7 separate regions of the Homo sapiens genome follow, and regions 1, 2, 3, 4, 6 and 7 are each linked to region 5. Evidence: promoter capture Hi-C in 16 types of primary human blood cells and fetal thymus (Javierre and others, 2016). All regions are on one chromosome and are shown on one strand. Each heading gives the region's core, a stretch centred on a gene start or on the middle of the fragment in contact. The rest is flanking DNA. Distances are from core to core; before and after follow the strand shown. Region 1 overlaps MEX3C (mex-3 RNA binding family member C). Region 2 overlaps ME2 (malic enzyme 2). Region 3 overlaps LOC107985152 (a long non-coding RNA gene). Region 4 has its middle 5.7 kb from the start of MEX3C. Region 5 holds the start of MBD2 (methyl-CpG binding domain protein 2). Region 6 overlaps ELAC1 (elaC ribonuclease Z 1). Region 7 overlaps SMAD4 (SMAD family member 4).

The links. Contacts are between HindIII fragments. The CHiCAGO score rates a contact against its expected background, and 5 or more counts as called.
Region 1: a contact is called between a fragment that was not itself captured here and the fragment with the promoter of MBD2 in region 5, in 4 of 17 cell types (total CD4 T cells, non-activated CD4 T cells, naive CD8 T cells and 1 more). The highest score is 12.2, in total CD4 T cells.
Region 2: a fragment that was not itself captured here is called in contact with the fragment with the promoter of MBD2 in region 5 in 5 of 17 cell types (activated CD4 T cells, total CD8 T cells, non-activated CD4 T cells and 2 more); the score reaches 11.0 in activated CD4 T cells.
Region 3: a contact is called between a fragment that was not itself captured here and the fragment with the promoter of MBD2 in region 5, in 8 of 17 cell types (non-activated CD4 T cells, naive CD8 T cells, total CD4 T cells and 5 more). The highest score is 15.1, in non-activated CD4 T cells.
Region 4: a contact is called between a fragment that was not itself captured here and the fragment with the promoter of MBD2 in region 5, in 8 of 17 cell types (non-activated CD4 T cells, naive CD8 T cells, total CD8 T cells and 5 more). The highest score is 12.9, in non-activated CD4 T cells.
Region 6: a contact is called between a fragment that was not itself captured here and the fragment with the promoter of MBD2 in region 5, in 3 of 17 cell types (naive CD4 T cells, naive CD8 T cells and total CD8 T cells). The highest score is 6.0, in naive CD4 T cells.
Region 7: a contact is called between a fragment that was not itself captured here and the fragment with the promoter of MBD2 in region 5, in 6 of 17 cell types (non-activated CD4 T cells, naive CD8 T cells, activated CD4 T cells and 3 more). The highest score is 18.9, in non-activated CD4 T cells.

What each region holds. Positions count from the first base shown.
Region 1 is chr18:51,179,246-51,182,137 of GRCh38, reverse strand. All of the region lies in intron 1 of MEX3C (mex-3 RNA binding family member C), which reads left to right. Among named protein-coding and RNA genes, the nearest start is that of MEX3C, 17 kb to the left of the region's middle. The HindIII fragment of the contact is 7,159 bases long and covers 1-2,892 here.
Region 2 is chr18:50,952,506-50,955,315 of GRCh38, reverse strand. ME2 (malic enzyme 2) reads right to left here. Exons shown (of 16, transcript NM_002396.5): 16 at 1,059-2,810. Among named protein-coding and RNA genes, the nearest start is that of ELAC1, 14 kb to the left of the region's middle. The HindIII fragment of the contact is 7,376 bases long and covers 1-2,810 here.
Region 3 is chr18:51,021,672-51,024,371 of GRCh38, reverse strand. All of the region lies in intron 1 of LOC107985152 (a long non-coding RNA gene), which reads left to right. Among named protein-coding and RNA genes, the nearest start is that of SMAD4, 7.2 kb to the left of the region's middle. The HindIII fragment of the contact is 176 bases long and covers 1,180-1,355 here.
Region 4 is chr18:51,202,069-51,204,768 of GRCh38, reverse strand. No RefSeq gene overlaps it. Among named protein-coding and RNA genes, the nearest start is that of MEX3C, 5.7 kb to the right of the region's middle. The HindIII fragment of the contact is 3,570 bases long and covers 1-2,700 here.
Region 5 is chr18:54,223,338-54,226,037 of GRCh38, reverse strand. MBD2 (methyl-CpG binding domain protein 2) reads left to right here and starts at 1,369. Exons shown (of 7, transcript NM_003927.5): 1 at 1,369-2,020. The coding sequence starts at 1,479. RefSeq lists an enhancer at 1-528 and a silencer at 1,279-1,668. The HindIII fragment of the contact is 9,949 bases long and covers 1,003-2,700 here.
Region 6 is chr18:50,973,007-50,975,845 of GRCh38, reverse strand. ELAC1 (elaC ribonuclease Z 1) reads right to left here. Exons shown (of 4, transcript NM_018696.3): 2 at 1,285-1,449. The coding sequence starts at 1,441. It also overlaps a transcript of LOC107985152 not described here. Among named protein-coding and RNA genes, the nearest start is that of ELAC1, 6.4 kb to the right of the region's middle. The HindIII fragment of the contact is 1,293 bases long and covers 732-2,024 here.
Region 7 is chr18:51,041,067-51,043,766 of GRCh38, reverse strand. All of the region lies in intron 1 of SMAD4 (SMAD family member 4), which reads right to left. Among named protein-coding and RNA genes, the nearest start is that of SMAD4, 12 kb to the right of the region's middle. The HindIII fragment of the contact is 1,251 bases long and covers 692-1,942 here.

The DNA.
Region 1 (2,892 bases), core at 225-2,724, 3.0 Mb after region 5:
AATAGAAGACTTATAACAATATACTGTAATAAAAGTTGGTGAACGTGGTCTTACTCACTCTCAAATATCTTTTTATTCTGTACTGTACCCACCTGCATTTGGACTATGGTTGACTGAAAGGAGCTGAAATGATAGAAAGTGAAACTGCAGATAAGGGAGGGGGGCTACTGTAATTTAAAATAATATCAGTAGCACTAACCAAACGTCTAATCAATATGCTAAGACTAGTAAAGTGTATCATTTCTGTATATTTAATTTGTTTTTCTTTTCTAACTTAATCATATTTATTTGAAAAAGTAATGTGTATGTATGACTCAAAATTTATTAAAAAAAATAAATAAGAATATACAGTGAAAACTGCCTCCCTCCTTCCCTGTCCCCCTAGGTCAACCACTTTTATGAGTGTATAGCATTCCATTATATAGCTGTACCAGCCTCATGCTAATTCAAACAATAATTATAAAATACAGAAGTTATTTTGCACTTGTGCACATATTTCTACAGGATCAATTGTACAAGAAGATTGTAGAAGCGTAAGAATATATGGGCTTATAACTGTGATAGCTCTTAGAGGGCAGTTTATACTCTCACAGCTAAATATGAGAGTTCTTTTCCCCACTCTTTACTAGCATTGTTGTAAGGTTTTTGTTATTTGACAATCTTATAGGTAGAAAATAATAGGTCAGTTCCCTTGAAAATGGGAATTTCCATCTTCAGAGCCATTTGTATATTTACTTTGATGTTAGCTGTTTCTTTCACCCTTTTATTGGGTTTTTGTTGTTTTGATTTGTAGGGGAGAGATGTGTGTGTGCATGCGTGTATGTGTGTGTTTGTGTGTGTGTAAGAAAGTGAGAAATTAGCCATTTCTAATAATGTTATAAATATTTTAGGTTTTTTTACTTTGTTTTTGGTGACTTGTGCCATGTAGCAACTTAAAAAATACAGGCTAATATATCATAATACGGCTTCTGAATTTTATTTCACTCTGAGATTATAAATTCTATTATTTTTAAAAATATCTTCGAGTTTTCAAATAAAAACTCAAAGTACTCAAAAAAGCTAATACCTTCGTCACCTGCAAAATTACAAAACAAGATTGTTTTTCTCCTTTAGTTTGTGTCACCTTTTAAAAAGTATCTATTCGAGTAGTCCCCAACATTAGAATGTATTTGTAGTTGAGAAATCATGTTAGTTGTTTGGAACTCAGAATATGTGTTCCTACAGAAACAGTGGTATGATTGGTGAGCTTCCCTATAATCCCTAATCTGAGTTTAGGATACTATAATCAAAAGATTTAGGGAAGTGAAGAAATAGTTTCCTCTGTCTTTATTGGCAGTGGCTTAAACTGGGTTGGTGGCCAGGCACGATGGCTCACGCCCGTAATCCCAGCACTTTGGGAGGCCAACGCGGGCAGATCACCTGAGTTCAGGAGTTTGAGACTAGCCTGGCCAACATGGTGAAAACCCGTCTCTACTAAGAATATATTTTAAAAATTACCCGGGTGTGGTGGTGGGCACCTGTAATCCCAGCTACTCGGGAGGCTGAGGCAGGAGAATTGCTTGAACCCAGGAGACGGAAGTTGCAGTGAGCCGATATGGTGCCACTGCACTCCAACCTGGGCGACAGAGACTCCATCTCAAAAAACAACAACAAAAAAAAACCAGGGTTGGCTTTGCTGTCTTCCTTTTACTTTTTTCCCTGATCTGCAAAACCTAATAAACACATGACCCTTTTGGGTGTAGACCAGGCCTGTCTTTCTCCCCTGTCTCAAGAGTGGCCCATGCTCAAACCATTTGTCTTCTCTGTACCCAATGAACCATACATTAAACACCTATTTATTAATACCAACCATAGGCTAGATAGTGTTCTGTGGACCCTCAAGCATATTTCCTCAGTTAATAATATACCTGTTAGGTATTTAACAGAAAATATTCTACTAAGGGTGTGACTGACAGTTGCTTATAGTATCAAAAGTATTTGATTAAGGGATTTTTACATAGTTTTCTTTTTTCTCTTTTATTTCTGTTTTCCTTTTTTTTCTTTTATTTATTTTCAGTTTTCTAATGGTCAATATTAGTAAGGGATGAAAGGGACCAACCCTAGACCCTTAGACTAATTCTCCCTTTGTCCTTAATGCAATTTGCCCAGTGTTTTTCTGCAGAATATTGTCTGTCTCTTGTTAGGAATGTAACTGTGGCTGACTGCCTTCTTGCCACCTTGTCAAGTTGTAGCCCACTGTGAACTTACATATCCAAATAGTAACTCCCCTGAGTATAGAATATGACCAGTTCTGTGTTTATACACCCCTTTCAGAATTTCTTAAGCATCAATAGAAAGTGATCTCAATTCTGCACACCAAACTGCACCTGCTGCACTAAATGAGGGAATCTCCTGGACATTTAGCCTGTATAAATGATACGTAGATGTGGAAGTTTCATTGTACTCTCTGTTCTTCTAACTGATTTTCTGTTGTAGAACAAAAGCACATACAGGCTGAACACTTCTAATCCGAAAATGTGAAATCCTAAATGCTCAAAAAGCCTCCGATTTTGTTTTAGAGCTCCAAAATCTGAGGCTTTTTGAGCACCAGCATAATGCTCAAAGAAAATACTCACTGGAGCATTTCAGATTTTCAGAGTAGGGATGCCCAACTGGCAGGTATGATGCAAATACTCCAAAATCTCAAACATTCCTGGTCCCATGTGTTTTTGGATAGGGGATAACTCAACCTGTGTAGTCAACACCTAGTGGCTTGGGAATGCTTTGGAAGGGCAAACAAACAAGTTCCACTTTGTGCAAAAAAGTGATCAGGTCATGTGCTTTATTAGAAAGCATCGGCCAGGTGCGGTGGCTCCCGCCTGTAATCCAGCACTTTGGGAGGCCGAGGCAGGC
Region 2 (2,810 bases), core at 115-2,614, 3.3 Mb after region 5:
TGGAGATCTGCGAGGTTGTAAGTGTAATTTTTAGATCAGCTTGAGAAAGAAAATCATTTGTTTTTGAAGTTGTATTCTATTCAGTTTAGACACAGACCAGGTGGTATTTGAGGTCCACACTGTTCAGGATTCAAGAACAGAGCAGTTGTATTTGGGGAAGGAGGTGCTGCTGACCCACTGCTCTTGCTGAGGTATCTAGGTGTTATTTGCTATAGAGGCAACGATAGGCCTTTATTGGTCTGGCTACCTATTTCAGCCTCCATGCAAGTTGGGGCCTTTCACCATGCCAGCCCTCCCAATAAAGAAGTATGATGGAGTTGTCAAAAAGTGGTGTAGGCCGGCCGGGCACGGTGGCTCACGCCTGTAATCCCAGCACTCTGGGAGGCTGAGGTGGGAGAATCACCTGCACTCAGGAGGCAGAGGCTGCAATGAGCTGAGATCGCCCCACTGCACTCCAGCCTGTGTGACAGAGTGAGAACCTGTCTCAAAAAAAAAAAGAGGCGTAGGCTAGTTTTTCTCAACCTATCCCGGGAAAAGAAAGGGCCCTTTCATGAAGGTGATGGACTCTCTCCCTCCAAGAGACACAAGCATAGGATCATGTATTATTTCAGGGGCTTCGTGGACTCCTGGGAGCTATTCATGAATCCTGAGGCAAAAAAAGAACTTTTATCTGAGGGTCTCAGTAGGTATTTGTTATTATATAATTCCCCCCTTCATCACAAAATCAACATAGTCTCTCCTGATTTAGTATCTTAACATTAGGGTCTTGGTGTTTGCGTGTGAGAAGTGGGGAGAAGAAAAGGCGATAGAGAATTCCTTTAGTATCATAATTAAATCAAGTAAGAAGAGGAATAGGGTAGGGAGCTCAACAAAAGGGAATGAAAAGATGAGGAGCAAAACTAGTACTCCATAGGTGAATTTAAGTCCAACAATACATTCCCAAGAGATCAAGTATTCTGGAGAGAGAGAGAAAGAGAGAGAGTGTGTGTTAAGGTTTATATTACCAAGTTTTAAAAGTGTCCTATACACAGAGCCTTTAAAAACAAGATCATAAAGCATTTTATGCTTAAGAAAATTTTACTAAGAAAATATAAGAACACACATCTCATTACAACATATCACAACAGAGAAAAAATAATTCACATAATTCTGAAGTTTTTAGACTGATTCTTGGAACCATTTTTAACAAGTCAATCTGGTATAATATGTTCTATACAAGGCATTCCTCTTAAACTAGCATTCCCATAAGCAATTACTACAAGACTACCCATTCCGTCATCTTATCAACACTCAGATGTGAAAGGCTAAGCAATGACTTGCAATACGTGGCTTCCTTGAAGTCAATAATTAGTGCTTGGTATGTTAACAAAGGGAACACAAAAATATCAACTGCAAAAGTACGGTTTTAATTTCAGTTAAATTTAAAGGTCATTAGACAAAGTATAATAAAACATTGGGCAGACATTTTATATTGTCATATATTTAGCTAAACTAGGTCTTTTAAGAAAGTTCTTATTTCATACACATTTTTATATTACTACTTTCTAATTATTCTCACCTTTCAATGGAATATGTGTATACAATACATAGATATCACTTAAAATATACCTTATAATTGAATTGCAAATTGACAGGTGGATTCCTAAAGTGAATATTATAATATATAAGCACAACTGAAATTTATTTGCACAGAAGTGTTAACAGTTGTTGATTCTGTGAAGATTACCAAATCAAAAGATGTTAGTGAATTGGCTACTGAGACTTTTTGGTGTAATTTATTAAATTCAACACCAAATCTTTAATGTTCGTGTCGAATACTTAAAATGCTGAAGACTAAATGAATAAGACGTTTATATTATATTTGAATTATAAATGGGAACAAAGTAAAAATCAGATGAACTGGTAAAAGACTAAGTGAGGCCGGGCGCGGTGGCTCACGCCTGTAATCCCAGCACTTTGGGAGGCCGAGGCGGGTGGATCATGAGGTCAGGAGATCGAGACCATCCTGGCTAACACGGTGAAACCCCGTCTCTACTAAAAATACAAAAAATTAGCTGGGCGAGGTGGCGGGCGCCTGTAGTCCGAGCTACTCGGAAGGCTGAGGCAGGAGAATGGCATAACCCGGGAGGCGGAGCTTGCAGTGAGCTGAGATTGCGCCACTGCACTCCAGCCTGGGAGACAGAGCAAGGCTGTCTCAAAGAAAAGAAAAAAAAAAAAAAAAAAGAATAAGTGAGAATTCTCATCTGAAGTAACAATTCATGAAGGTATTAGATGAAATTGCCTACACAGAAGGCTTTCTTCACTGAGAGGGGTTTGAGCTAAAAACCCAGGCTCTGCCACACATCATAAGACCTTTGACAAGTCATTTAACCTCTCTGTGCCTCTGTCTCTGTCTGTAAATCAGGCACAGAAACAGAGGGTAAACAGAGGATTAAATATGTCGGATCCTTAGAACAGTGTCTGGTATAGAGTAGGTATTAACCACAAACTTTAGTTTGTCATTATCGGCCCACTGTATATACCAAATGTGTTGGTGATAATCCAATGGCTGTATAGGAATCAACGATTTGCTTGAATATATACTTAAAACTAGGAAAGGAAAAATTACTTTTCTAGAACATAAAAGAAAATCCTGAAAACCACTGAATATATACCCACAAGTTTCCCCTAGTCTTAACATTAAAAAGTGTGCTGAATGGAGGAATAACTCCCAATTGCAAAGTTTTTATTTGGAAAAAACAAGATTCTATAGCCATATGAAAAGTTTGTTGACAAAATGCTGTTTACCAAAAGACACTAAGCATTCAAAT
Region 3 (2,700 bases), core at 18-2,517, 3.2 Mb after region 5:
CTTTGGATTCATCTTCTAAAAGCTCTCCCTGTTCTCATGCTTGCCTCTTCCCAACATAATAGCTAGAGAGATCCTTTTAAAATAGAAGTCAGGGCCAGGCACAGTGGCTCACGCCTATAATCCCAGCACTTTGGGAGGCCAAGGCGGGCAGATCACGAGGTCAGGAGATTGAGACCATCCTGGCTAACCCGGTGAAACCCTGTCTCTACTAAAAATTACAAAAAAATTAGCCGGGCGTGGTGGCGGGCGCCTGTAGTCCCAGCTACTCGGGAGGCTGAGGCAGGAAAATGGCGTGAACCCAGGAGGCGGAGCTTACAGTGAGTGGAGATCGCGCCACTGCACTCCAGCCTGGGTGACAGAGCAAGACTCCGTCTCAAAAAAAAAAAAAAAAAAGTCAGACATCTGCACTCTGCTTAAATCCCTGCATTAAATGATCCTCATTTCATTTAGAGTAAAAATCTACATCCTTACAATAGTCTAAAGGGTTCTATAAGATCAGCATCACCACTCCACCCTGAGCATTACTTCTCTAATCTCATTTCCTATCAGTCATTCTCCAATATGTCCTAACCTTCCCGACCTCTTTTCTTGTCCCTAGAAGATGCCAGCCATGCTCCCAAGTTAGGGCCTCTGCACTGGCTGTGCCCTCTGCCTTGTACATGTTTCCCCCAGATATCTGCATTGCCAACTCTCTCACCTCCTTTGGTCAAAAGTTACCTCATTGAAGCCTATCTTGACCTTTTAAAAATCACAGCCCATTCTTAACTCTCACAGTACACCCAAAGCCCCTTTACCCTGCTTTCTGTTTTACTATAGCACTTCTGACATACTATATGATTTACTTATGTGTTGTGTTTATTGTTTATTGCCTATTACCCCCCGCTAGAATGTAAGCTCCATGAGGGCAAGGATTTATCTGTAGTGTTTACCAGTGTATCCCAAGTGCCTAGAGTAGCTATTGACACGTAGGAGGTGCTCAATAAATATTTGTTGAATGAATGAACAAGGTGTTTGTGCTTCTATCCATAGAAGTGAAAACTAGGATTAGGTTTGACCCAATTCTATTTCATTCAGCAAAAATATCCTTTAATTTTAATAGATACCAAAATATGTAATATTTTATGTTGTTTAGATCAATTAGATATTAAAATTATACAATCAAAATGAGCTTTTTAAGCTTATCAGACTCAGTCAAGAATTTTTTTAAAAAAATTTTTTTGTAGGGAAATATGATAGGTTGATCAATAAAAGACTCTCCAGCTTAAAATATTATATTAAAATATTGAGGGGTAAGTGGAATGGAAATACAAGATAAGAAAAAAAAAGTGATGTAAAATTTACTTTAAAGAAAAGCTTGTTCATATATTTTTTAAATGGTTGATAGATGCATTATGATCTTTAAATTTCCTTGGATACGTTTAAAGAATGATGTAACAATCTTATTTTAAAATGCCAATACTTACGCCAGAAATAACAAACCTTACTATTATTTAAACTTGTGATGAAACATTTTAGATATGACCTTTAAAAGTTCAAGAAGAAACAGTTTTAGCCAGGCGTGATGGCTCATGCCTGTAATCCCAGCCACTCAGGAGGCTGAGGTGAGAGGATTGCTTGAGCCCAGGAGTTTGAGGCTGCAGTGGGCCGTGATCATGCCACTGCACTCTAGCCTAAGTGACAGAATGAGACCCTATCTCTTATTTTAAAAAAAAGGACGGAAGGAAGGAGAGAGAAAGAAAGAAAAAGGAAAGAAAGGAAGGAAGAAAAAAACACAGTTTTTCAAATTTCTTTTAGGAGAAAAGCAAGCAAGAAATCTTGAAGACCATAGTTCCAAAGCACTCAAAGGGAGCCAAGCTACTGCCAGTTCCACATAGATCTCTGATAGGCGCAGGCAAAGACTTGAAAGGTTTATTTTCCTTTTGTTTTATTTAATGGTTTTACCTCCTATGAATAGGAGCTTTCTAAGGGTGAGGAGAATATAGAAGTTTAATCTTTTCATCCTTGGGATGGAGACAGAGTGCTCTTCCCTCAAGTAAAGGACCTCCTGGCACAAGTTAGCATCATGATATTTTAGTGTCAACCCAATGTTTTGGGTTTGGTTTGGTTTTGTTTTTTAGAGATGGAGTCTTGCTGTGTTGCCTTGGCTGGACTCAGACTCCTGCGTTCAAGTGATCCTCCTGCCTCAGCCTTCTGAGTAGCTGGGGACTACAGACATGCACCACTGCACCCAGTTTAATCCAGTGATTTTTAAAATAATTCCAGTTGCTCCTGAAAATTACTTGACATCAATTAACCTAAATATTACAAGTGATTCCCACATTCCTAAAAGCAATAAAATAAACTCTGTCATCTCTTTGGCTTAAAGTATACAGCCATAGAAATGTATTACCTATTCAAAATATTAGATTGAAACTGGATTCAAACTTGAGATTCAAAATGACTGGAATCCAGGCTGTGTCTGGAATATTCTTGTTCCTGTCCTTTAGGACTCAGTGGTCCTCTAGGAATGGTGCCCTGCTGTGTCAGAGTTGGCTGCCCTTTCTTTCTGCTCCCAGACTAGGCTGTGAGTTCCCTGAAGATAGAGGTTCTCCTTCCCCCACGTTCTCTGAGTGCCCAACACTGGGCTTGCCCATGGCAAGTGTCAGAGAAGCGAGAGATGAGGCTGGGAAGATGGATCTGGGGCCAGACAACGAAGGTAGC
Region 4 (2,700 bases), core at 111-2,610, 3.0 Mb after region 5:
CAACCACAGTGGAGGCCAGGAAATGTAGTCTAGCTGTGTGCTCAGGAAGAGGAGGAAACAGATTTAGTGAACATCTAGCCAGTCTGTTTCATAGGCCTACAGAACCCCAAGAGATCCATGGGTAGACTTTAAGGGGTCGTTTAAGCATACAGAAATATACGAGAAATGTTGCCTTCATATGTATTTTCCTGGGGAGAGGAAGGGAAGGACTAGCCCTGATTCTATTGACTAGGAATGTAGGTTGGAAGAAGTCAAATGTAAGCTGAGGATTAAAAATGTGTGGAGATGGGGAAGGTGGGATAGAAGGTCAGGGCAATCTGAGCAGAAAAACAACACTAGCAAAGGCACAAAGATGGGATAGTACAATGCATATTTCAAAAACGGCCAAAGGTTCAGATTAGCTGTTGAACTGAGTTTATTTGAAATAATATCCATTTAGTTGGTCAGTCAGCAAGGACATACTGGCCCCTCCTAGGTACCAAGTGCTATGGTAAAGCTGGCTTTATAAAGAAGAGAAGAAGAGAGACAATTCCAGAACAAAGAATGCAAAGTGTTGCTAGGGACATAGAGGACACCATAAGAGCCAATTGCAGGACATCTACCTTACCTAATAGGTTAGGGAAGACACCCTAGAGGAAGTGATGTTTAAGCTGAGCTCTGAAGGACAACTTGTATTGACGTTAGCTTAGCTAAGAGTGAAAGGAGAGGCCAGGTGCCATGGCTCACACCTGTAATCCCAGCACTCTGGGAGGCCGAGGCGGGTGGATCACGTGAGGTCAGGAGTTCAAGACCAGCCTGGCCAACATGGTGAAACCCCTTCTCTACTAAAAAATACAAAAATTAGCATGGTGTGGTGGTGGGTGCCTGTAATCCCAGCTACTCAGGAGGCTGAGGCAGGAGAATTGCTTGAACCTGGGAGGTGGAGGTTGCAGTGAGCTGAGATTGCACCACTGCACTACAGCCTGGGCCACAGAGCAAGACTCCGTCTCCAAAAAAAAAAAAAAAAAAAAAAGACTGAAGGCAGAAGAGCCCTATTCCAGGCCTGGAGGCATAAGAAGAATATGTAGAATATATGAACACTTGCCAGAAGGCCTTTATGGTAAGAACAACAATGTAAAAGGAAGCCTAGCATGAACAAGGATAAGAGGTAGACATAGCCCAGATGCAGAAGACCTTGTATGTTAGGAAATGTGGATATTATCCTAAGGACGACAAAAAGGGTTTTAAGAGAAGTAGAAGAAGTAATCCTGAATTAAAATTATTCCAGCTGCAGCATGGACAATGAATTAGAGTGGTGCAAGACTAGATGTAAGAATATTTGTCTTGGGGACTCCTGTTCATCATCTAGACTGTGGTAATGATGGTTCTGAACAGTTTTAGTCTCAGCACTTCTAACACCAAATGTATGGGGTTTTGTCTCCAAATCAAACAATGCTCCAACTTTCTGGACATCGAGTGGGTGTCTCAAAATTCAATTCAGTTCTGGCACTAACTACTTGGAGTTAACATAGATCCCATAGGTTAAGGGCTCAGCCCCACAAGACTGCCCCACTGCAGATGCCAACACAAGTTTTGAGTATCCAGGGTACCCAACCTTCTATCCAATTTGGCTACAAAGTCAGGGGTTCCCAGGGACACAAATATTTGCTAGAGTGGCTCACAGAACTCAGAAAAGCATCTTACTATTACTGGTTGAGTATAAAGGATCCGAACGAACAGCCAGGTGAAGAGGTACACAGGGTGAGATCTGGAAGGATCCTGTGCTCAGGAGCTTCTGTCCTAGTAGAGTTGGAGCACACTACCCTCCTGGTATGTGTGTGCCTTCACTAACCCAGAAGCTCTCCAAGGGTTTTTTTTTAATGGAGGTTTTATCATACATGCATGTTTATTAACTCAATCTCCTATCACCACCAATTATTCAGGAAATTACAAGAGTTTTAGGAGCTCTGTACCACAAATTATGGATAAAGATCAAAGATAAATTTCTTATTCTATCACAGTGGTAGAGATGCAGAAAGATGGATGGATTTGAGAATTGGTATGACCCTTAGAACCTGATCTTTGACTGGCTATGGGAGTTAAAGAAGAAGTCAAGAATGTCCACCAGGCTTTTGTCAAAAGAATGGAGTAGACAATGGTGCTATCTAGCACACTATTAAGCTGAAAATCAATTTTACCTGAGAAGATTTGTTTGAGAAATTGAGTTTAAACTGAGGTTGAATTTGAATTGCCAATTCCAGGTATCCATAAAACAGTGGGACTTGTGGGTCTGGAACTCAATGGAGAGATAAGAAATGGCAATATGTACTTGGGAACTGTCAACAAGGTAATAGAAGCCTTGGAAATGGATAAAAGTTTAGGTGGAGAGTATACAGTAAGCAAAAGCAGGCCTGACTGAGACTGATCTTTGATGGATGCCATATGTGAGTGATAGGAACACAGAGCCTTCTATGGAGACCAGGGCATGACCATGGAAGTAAGAAAAGCAGAGCTCAAGGAAGGGAAAGGAAGAGGTTGCTTTAAAGAGCAGTCAATAGTGTCAAATCCTGCCATGGAAAGGTTAAGCTGGATAAGGATAAAAAGCGCTCAATGGATTTACTGACAAGGTGAGAATAATTTCAGTGAAGCAGCAAGAGCCATGGCTGCATTGCAGTGCTTGGTAAAGAAATGGGCAGTGAGTGCAGACAGCTGATTGGAGAA
Region 5 (2,700 bases), core at 120-2,619:
TCCTGCCTCAGCCTCCGGAGCAGCTGGGACTACGGGCGCCCGCCACCACGCCCAGCCAATTTTCTGCATTTTTAGTAGAGACGGAGTTTCATCGTGTTAGCCAGGCTGGTCTTGAACTCCTGACCTCAGGTGATCTGCCCGCCTCTGCCTCCCAAAGTGTTGGGATTACAGGCGTGAGCCACCGCGCCCGGCCCACAGATGACTTCTAAATGAATGTCTCCAGTACTGATCTCCTCAGAACTCATTTCTTGATGATTTTTTACATTCACATTTCTAAATTTCTTGTAGGAAACCACAAATTAGTGTCTTTCAACTAAAGGACATTAAAAGAAGACTAAGGTCAGGTTTAGAGACAGACAAGTTTGTGTGTATGAGTTAATGTTTGCATATACTGCAAAGATAAACCAAATTAATTTTAGATTTTTGTTGCTTTATATTAATCAACTTTTTCTATACGTTAAACTTGGTCCTCAGTTTTTAGGGCATATGAGTATAGAAACCCAAGATAGCTTATCATCAGGCTGATAACATGTGCTTTACATTTTTCAATCTTCCAAATATTTCATAATATATTATCTTGAATATCAATAGCACACTTCTATAAGTGTTCGACAACTTATAGAAAATATGCATTTCTAAAATTCAAGTTGGCAGACCGAAAAGAATACCACACAGTTTCCTAAAGGCTTGTGACAGTAAGTTAGGCTGGACTTTCAACATAATGGAATATTTACCAAATAAAAGGCCACTGATTTTTGTATTAGACAAAGACATCTGGAAATTTCTAGATGGATTTAGGGATTCTGGTCATTCTAAGGAGAATCTAGAGGTAAGCCCCATCTGACTCATGGGCATATTCCAAGTTATCATTTCCTTTCCTACATCCTTACAAGGTTCCAGGAGAATCTGTCAATGGCTCTGAAGCCAGGCTCAGGAGGGAACTGGTATTCAGCGAATGGGACACTTTGCTTCATTCCTTCATTATAAGCTCCCCTGCAAGCTTTGTGCAGAGGGGCGGGAAAAGGGGCTATCACCCCCTTAAATGAATAGCCGAGTTGGTATGTAATATAAGATCTATTTTGCTTGTTATTCATTAATTGGGAAGCAAACATAGGTAAAATCACATAATGGTGGAGGTTACCCCGTTTGAAACAAACTAACCACAGTCACTATGACACCCCCAGCTGGTGGCTAGCCCGACCAACCTTCCCAGCTCCGCGCGCCCAGTGGGGGCCGGAAAAGCGCGGGAGGGGGCGTGGCCCCGAGAAGGCGGAGACAAGATGGCCGCCCATAGCGCTTGGAGGACCTAAGAGGCGGTGGCCGGGGCCACGCCCCGGGCAGGAGGGCCGCTCTGTGCGCGCCCGCTCTATGATGCTTGCGCGCGTCCCCCGCGCGCCGCGCTGCGGGCGGGGCGGGTCTCCGGGATTCCAAGGGCTCGGTTACGGAAGAAGCGCAGCGCCGGCTGGGGAGGGGGCTGGATGCGCGCGCACCCGGGGGGAGGCCGCTGCTGCCCGGAGCAGGAGGAGGGGGAGAGTGCGGCGGGCGGCAGCGGCGCTGGCGGCGACTCCGCCATAGAGCAGGGGGGCCAGGGCAGCGCGCTCGCCCCGTCCCCGGTGAGCGGCGTGCGCAGGGAAGGCGCTCGGGGCGGCGGCCGTGGCCGGGGGCGGTGGAAGCAGGCGGGCCGGGGCGGCGGCGTCTGTGGCCGTGGCCGGGGCCGGGGCCGTGGCCGGGGACGGGGACGGGGCCGGGGCCGGGGCCGCGGCCGTCCCCCGAGTGGCGGCAGCGGCCTTGGCGGCGACGGCGGCGGCTGCGGCGGCGGCGGCAGCGGTGGCGGCGGCGCCCCCCGGCGGGAGCCGGTCCCTTTCCCGTCGGGGAGCGCGGGGCCGGGGCCCAGGGGACCCCGGGCCACGGAGAGCGGGAAGAGGATGGATTGCCCGGCCCTCCCCCCCGGATGGAAGAAGGAGGAAGTGATCCGAAAATCTGGGCTAAGTGCTGGCAAGAGCGATGTCTACTACTTCAGGTACCTCCCTGGGGGCGGGGAGGGGGTGGCGGGGTCAGGCCGGGGTCAGGGGTCAAGAGCGGGCCTGGGCAGAGGATGAGCGCTGGGGCCCGGGGGGCATGTGGCAGGGACAGGCTGGTTTGGTGGTGGAAGGTGGCGGAACCCTTGGGTGAGAGTTGACCCCAGTGCGGTGGGAGGCAGTGTCAAAAGGTGAGGGCCCGCAGGAGGGCATCTTATGTGGAAGGCGTCGGGGAAGATGGTTTGCGAAGAAAGGGTTAGCCTGGCAGGGATGGTTAGTCCACTGAAGGGTTAAAAGGAGGTGTAATTCATCGAAACTATAAAACCCAGTCACTGTTGGCTCCTGTCCCAGCCTGTCCCAGATTCATCATCACAAGTGTTAAGCATGCACATGTGGAAGAATGAGCTATCTACAGTAACAAGGTTTCATTTACTTCATCCAAGAAAGTTTTGTATAAAGCAGCTATTTGGAATGCCTGAAGTTTTTTTGGAACTTCTTGGTATTGCAGAATATACTCTTTTGAAACTGACACACTGTACTAAGTTTTTAGACTCCTAGACCAAAATTTGCTCCCCAGGGAACATTTGTCAATGTCTGGAGACATTTTCGGTTCTCACACCTGGGGAGGGTGTGATACTGGCATCTAGTGGGTAGAGGCCAGAGATGCTGCTACATATTCGAT
Region 6 (2,839 bases), core at 129-2,628, 3.3 Mb after region 5:
CCTCCTTTGTGCTCCAAAGTACTTAGAAAATACTTCCATTATTCTACTTATCACATTACATGATTGATTACTGTCCGTTTGCATGTCAGTTTCCATCACTGGACCAAGAGATCCCTGAACACTAGAAGTATCTTTCCTTTAGTCACCAAGTGCCAGGTACTGTGAAGAGTTGTAGGAATAATGACTTCAATACTATTTATCAAGACCTAATAAGTGAGAGGCACTGTGCTAAGTTGCTAAACGTCTTATCCATTCACTAAAGTAAGTTCCATGATCATTTATATACTTAGTAGATGCCTAGTTGAACAGATATAACTAGGCATCTACTAGGTATATAAATGATCATGGAACGTACTTTACAGTATAGGGAGATAAAGAACACAGAAACAAACTAAATAACATAATTTCAGATACTGATGATGCTAAGAAGTCAATAAAAATAGGACAAAGTAAAGGAATGACTGGGGTGAGAGAGGAACTACTTAATCCAGGAGGATTTGGGAAAGCCTCTGAGAAGATGGCATCTGAGCTAAGATTTAACTGAGAAAGAGGCAATCACACAGAGAATAAATGATTACATGTAATTCTCATAACACCCTTTCTAAGTAGACTTTTTATCCCCATTTTCAAGATCGGGAAAGTAAAGTTGAAGTTTGCTGATATGCTAAGGTCACAGGCCCAAGACACAGCCAGGACTAGAACCCAGGTCTGCCTGACTCTGAGCTGAAGCTTTTCACCACTGGACTGCTCTATCTCCCAGGTGCTGGCCTCTGCTCACTCCATTCCCCCTGATTGAAATGCCCTTCTTCTCCTCAGCCCTGAAATTCCTCCTCCTCCTTTGACAATCCACAGGTCAACTTCTCTGAGAAGTTTACCCTGATAACCCCAAGAGGAAAACAACATCTCCCTCCTCCAAACATTTCCTACCCTTTGCATCCTCTCATGAAAACTATCTCCTGGTGGAGGTAAGTATGTACACTGCTTCCTTGCTAAGGCAGTGTTCATCTAATATGCCTGGTGTATCCCACGACATTTCCCAAACCCCAAGCCTACATGAATCCTTGCTTTCAGCATCTACAGGATAAATGAAAAGCAAGTAAATAAGTAAATGAAGTTCAGTGGACGTGGCCAGATGCCTGCAGGCCTTCCAAGTCTCACCAGGGTGTAGCACTGAAGTGGGATGCAACCATCAGGGCTGTTTCTAAACAAAATGTCCAAGGAGAGCCAAGAAAATGAAGCAGAACAACAAAAAAATCTTAATGAGATAGCTGAAGGCACACTAACCTGCTTTAAGTTGGCTTTTCATAAGCTGTGTCTGTGTTCCCTCCCCACAGTCAAAGAGCCAGCACTCGCCTTCACACCGAAGGACCACAGCAGAGGCACCCCGGGTTGGAGATGGGTATGCTGCACCCGTCCCCAGGAATGTCACATCCATAGACATCTTCCACCCTGCAACAGAAAGATCATCTGGGGATTATTTCATATCACTGTACCAAAAACATATTCCTGTAATATTTATCTCTATTATTACTTTTTGGTTATTTAGAACAGTCTGGATTCTTGGTCTCTCATAGTATTCCACACATATCCACAGTAAGGTTTTAATAACTTGGCTAAAACTACAAGTTAACAAATCTTGTATAATTGTTCACACACCCAAACAAACAAAAATAACCAAACCCAGGCAATTAAAAACTATAGCTGAATTCTAACTATATGATGTTCTCAAAAAGGCAAAACTATGGAGACAGTAAAAATCGTGCTTGCTAGTGATACAGGGTGAGAGAAGGAAGAATGAACAGGCAGAGCACAGGGGATGTTTAAGGCAGTGAAACGATTCTGTATGATACAGTAAGACAGACATATGTCATTATACATTGGTCAACTGTACACAGAATAAACACCACTAGAGTGAATGAGCTCTAATGTAAACTTTAGTTGACAGTGTATCTGTATCAATATTGGCTCAACAACTGTAACACATGTAGCACATTTTTCATTTTTTTTTCATGAGCCCTTAAGCTTCTGAACATATACCGCATTAATGCAAGATGTTAATAAGGGGAAACTGAGGGGTGAGGGATAAGAGAGTATATGGGAACACTCTGTACTTTCTACTTACTAATTTTTTTAAAAAAAATCCTTCTAATAAACACTAAACAACAACAACTCTAGTTGAGATACAGGGCAAGAGATGGTATTTAATGATACTCACCATATGGTGTCTCTGATGCCCATAATGATCAGCCCTTTCCCTTTCTCTGAACAATCATAACAGTAATGCTCTATTATGCTCTATAGTCATGCTGATATTTCACAATAATGCTGAACAAATGTCTCACTCCCTACATGACATGGTCCATGACTCACGAGGACTTGGGACTCTGCTATTTTAAGTGATCAGCAACAACCTGTTGAATGTGCAGGTTTATTCCAACTCCTGGCACTATTCCTTTCACTATTTCTAGGTACATCTGACATCACTGATATACTTCTGAGATGGAATATATGTATCAAACAGAATATATTAGAATGAACTGAAATTTATACATAACTGATTATAGATTATCCACATTGATGGCAGGGAAGAAAACAAAGAAGCTTAAGAAAAACTACTGTAAGAGAATTTGACTGACAGCTAGATATAAAATATACAAAAACTTCAGTAACTCTTCTCAGTCTTAGCAATAACAAGATAAAAACAGAAATGGGGGAAAAACCCATTCTAAGAGCAAAAACAAAATTACCAGAAATAAAGTTAGCAGGAAAGGAACAGCACCCAAAAGATTCACACGAATAAAAGATACACATTATGTCCCTGATAGGATGACTTGATATC
Region 7 (2,700 bases), core at 68-2,567, 3.2 Mb after region 5:
CAATCTCACCATCAAATGTCATCATTTCTAAAATTTATGCTATGCTGGGGCCTTAACGGTATCTCAAAGTTTGTTTTAATACCAAGTTGCTTTGAATACAAATGATAATGACCTCGCTTTCTTAAACAAACAGCTTTCTCATCTCTCTCTTTATTGTATTCCTATGACCACAAGTGCCTGAAACATAATTAAAAGTTATGCATATAAAAAATAATACTAGCAGGAATAAAGAGATGTATTCCTACATTAAATGGTTCTAGATTATGGAAGTATGGTAGGCAAGAGCATAATATCGATATAAATAAAATTATATATTCTAATTAAAGGTCTAGCCGCATGACTGAATGTTAACATCTCTCTCAATTCTCTCATCTATAAAATGGAAACACCTGCCCTGACAACTTCACAAATTTATTGTGGTAATTAGATGCAACAACGTACATAAAAGAAATGTGGGAAACATAAATTGACCAATTCAACAAACACTGTATATACAAAGCACTACAGATACAAAAACAGGAAGCCCATAGTAAGAAAGTGGGTCTGGACTCTCTCAGACCAACATCCCATTTTTTTTCCAACAAATAATTTATATCACCACCTTAGCTTTACTGAAACAAAATTCTAAACTACTTAAACATATTTTGAAAATTTAACAATGCCCTAACTATAACAAAAAGGAGGAAAAGCTTAATATATAATGTGTACTTCCACCTATAAATACTCAGGCATGCCAACTAAGTTAGAATGTATAATAAAGAAGTTAGATGCTAGCACTTATATACAGAATCATTACAAATGTGACAGCTACAAATTCAGACCTTCCAAGACAAACGTGTTATACTGGCAACTCAAATAGCACAATGGCACTGCAGTCAGTAACATGGATTTTCCCAAATGGTGAACTCTTAAACAACTTGAACTAAGAAAATGAATTAACAAGAGGCTGGGGCAGGAGGACTGCTTGAGCCCAGGAGACCAAGGCTACGGTGAGCTATGACTGAGCCACTGCACTCCAGCCCAAGTGACAGAGTAAGATTTGGTCTCAAAAATAAAAAACAAAACAACCAAGTCCGGGTACAGTGGCTCATGCCTGTAATCCCAGCACTTTAAGAGGCCGACATGGTTGGATCACTTAAGCTCAGGACCAGCCTGGCAACAAAGGCACGGTTGCCAGGACCAGCCTGGCAACAAAGTGAGACCTCCTCTCTACAAAAAATACAAAAAATTAGTGGGGCATGGTGGCACATGCCTATAGTCCCAGCTACTCAGAAGGCTGAGGTGGGAGGACGGCTTGAGCCTGGGAGGCAGAGGTTGCAGTGAGCCAAGATCACGCCACTGCACTCCAGCCTGGGTAACAGAGCCTGAAGTAAGGGAGGGAGGCAGGGAGGGAGGAAGGAAAAAGAAAGAAAACAGAGAGAAAGAGAGAGGGAGAGAGGGAGGGAGGGAGGGAGGGAGGGAGGGAAGGAGGGAGGGAGGCAGGCAGGCAAGAAAAAAATGAATTAAAAGAAATTTAACTCCTGGCAAAGTGAATATATATTATAGAGTTAGGTTCTGGGCTAATTATATTTTCCTCCTACATGAATTTCTGGGGCATCTGAAAGTCTTGTGGGATGCAAGATAATTATTCGCTGTCTCTCACATTGCAGGATGGCATCCCTGGCCACCAATCCACCAAACCCATCCACAAATTTCTACAACATCCCTTAAAGAGCAGTACTTACTCCACTGAGAACTACTAATCTGGAAGACCCAAACATATTATTACATAAGTAATAAATGCTAAAAGAAGTAGGTATAAAGTGATTTGGGACTATAAATGAGGGAGCATGGAAAGTTCATAGGTAACCTAGGTCTTGGCACAACGTATCAGTCAGGATTGGCTAGTCTATGCTGCAGTGACAACCAACCCCCAAAAGATCAGTAGCTTAAAACAAAAGCTTATTTTCTGCTTAGGATATAATACACATTCATCACAGATCAACTGGGGGCACTGCTGTCATCGCTCAGAAATTAGACTGACAAAGGCTCCATTTCTACATATGTCCTTAAATGGCAGGAGAAGGGATAGGACAGCTCATATATCTTCTTTTAAAGGCTACCACTTCTGCTCATGTTTGACTGGCCAAAGTCATAAGGCCATGCCAGGAGTTCTCAACCAGGGGCAACTTTGTCCCTCAGGGGACACTTGGCAACATCTGGAGGCAATATATGGTCACAACTGGATACTACTGGGCATCTGGTGGCTAAAGGCCATGGTTGCTGCTAAATACCCTGCAATGCACTGGACAACACGCAAAATAAATTATCCAGCCTAAAATGTCAACAGTGCCAATGCAAGAAACTCTGGGCCATGCCTAATTTCAAGGTAGGGATGAGGGAGACAAAGAAGCACAATACTACCATGTGCCAGGGGACAGCCATCAGAATATTGGTAGAATAGTATTAATGGATTACCACATACGAATAAGAATTTGCCAGGCTGAAGGAAAATGATGAGGAAAAGCAGAGACGGATAAGAGCTTTGTCTAGAGTAGGTTCATGGTAGAAAGAGGAGAAAAAACAGCATTAGATTTGTATTAGAAAACTTCAGTGAGAGCCTGGAGAACAGCTTTGGAAAAGGAAATAGAAAACCAGTTAGGAAACAATTACCAGAAAAGCGGTAAGATCCTAGACTGGGGCATGGGCAATGGGCCAAGG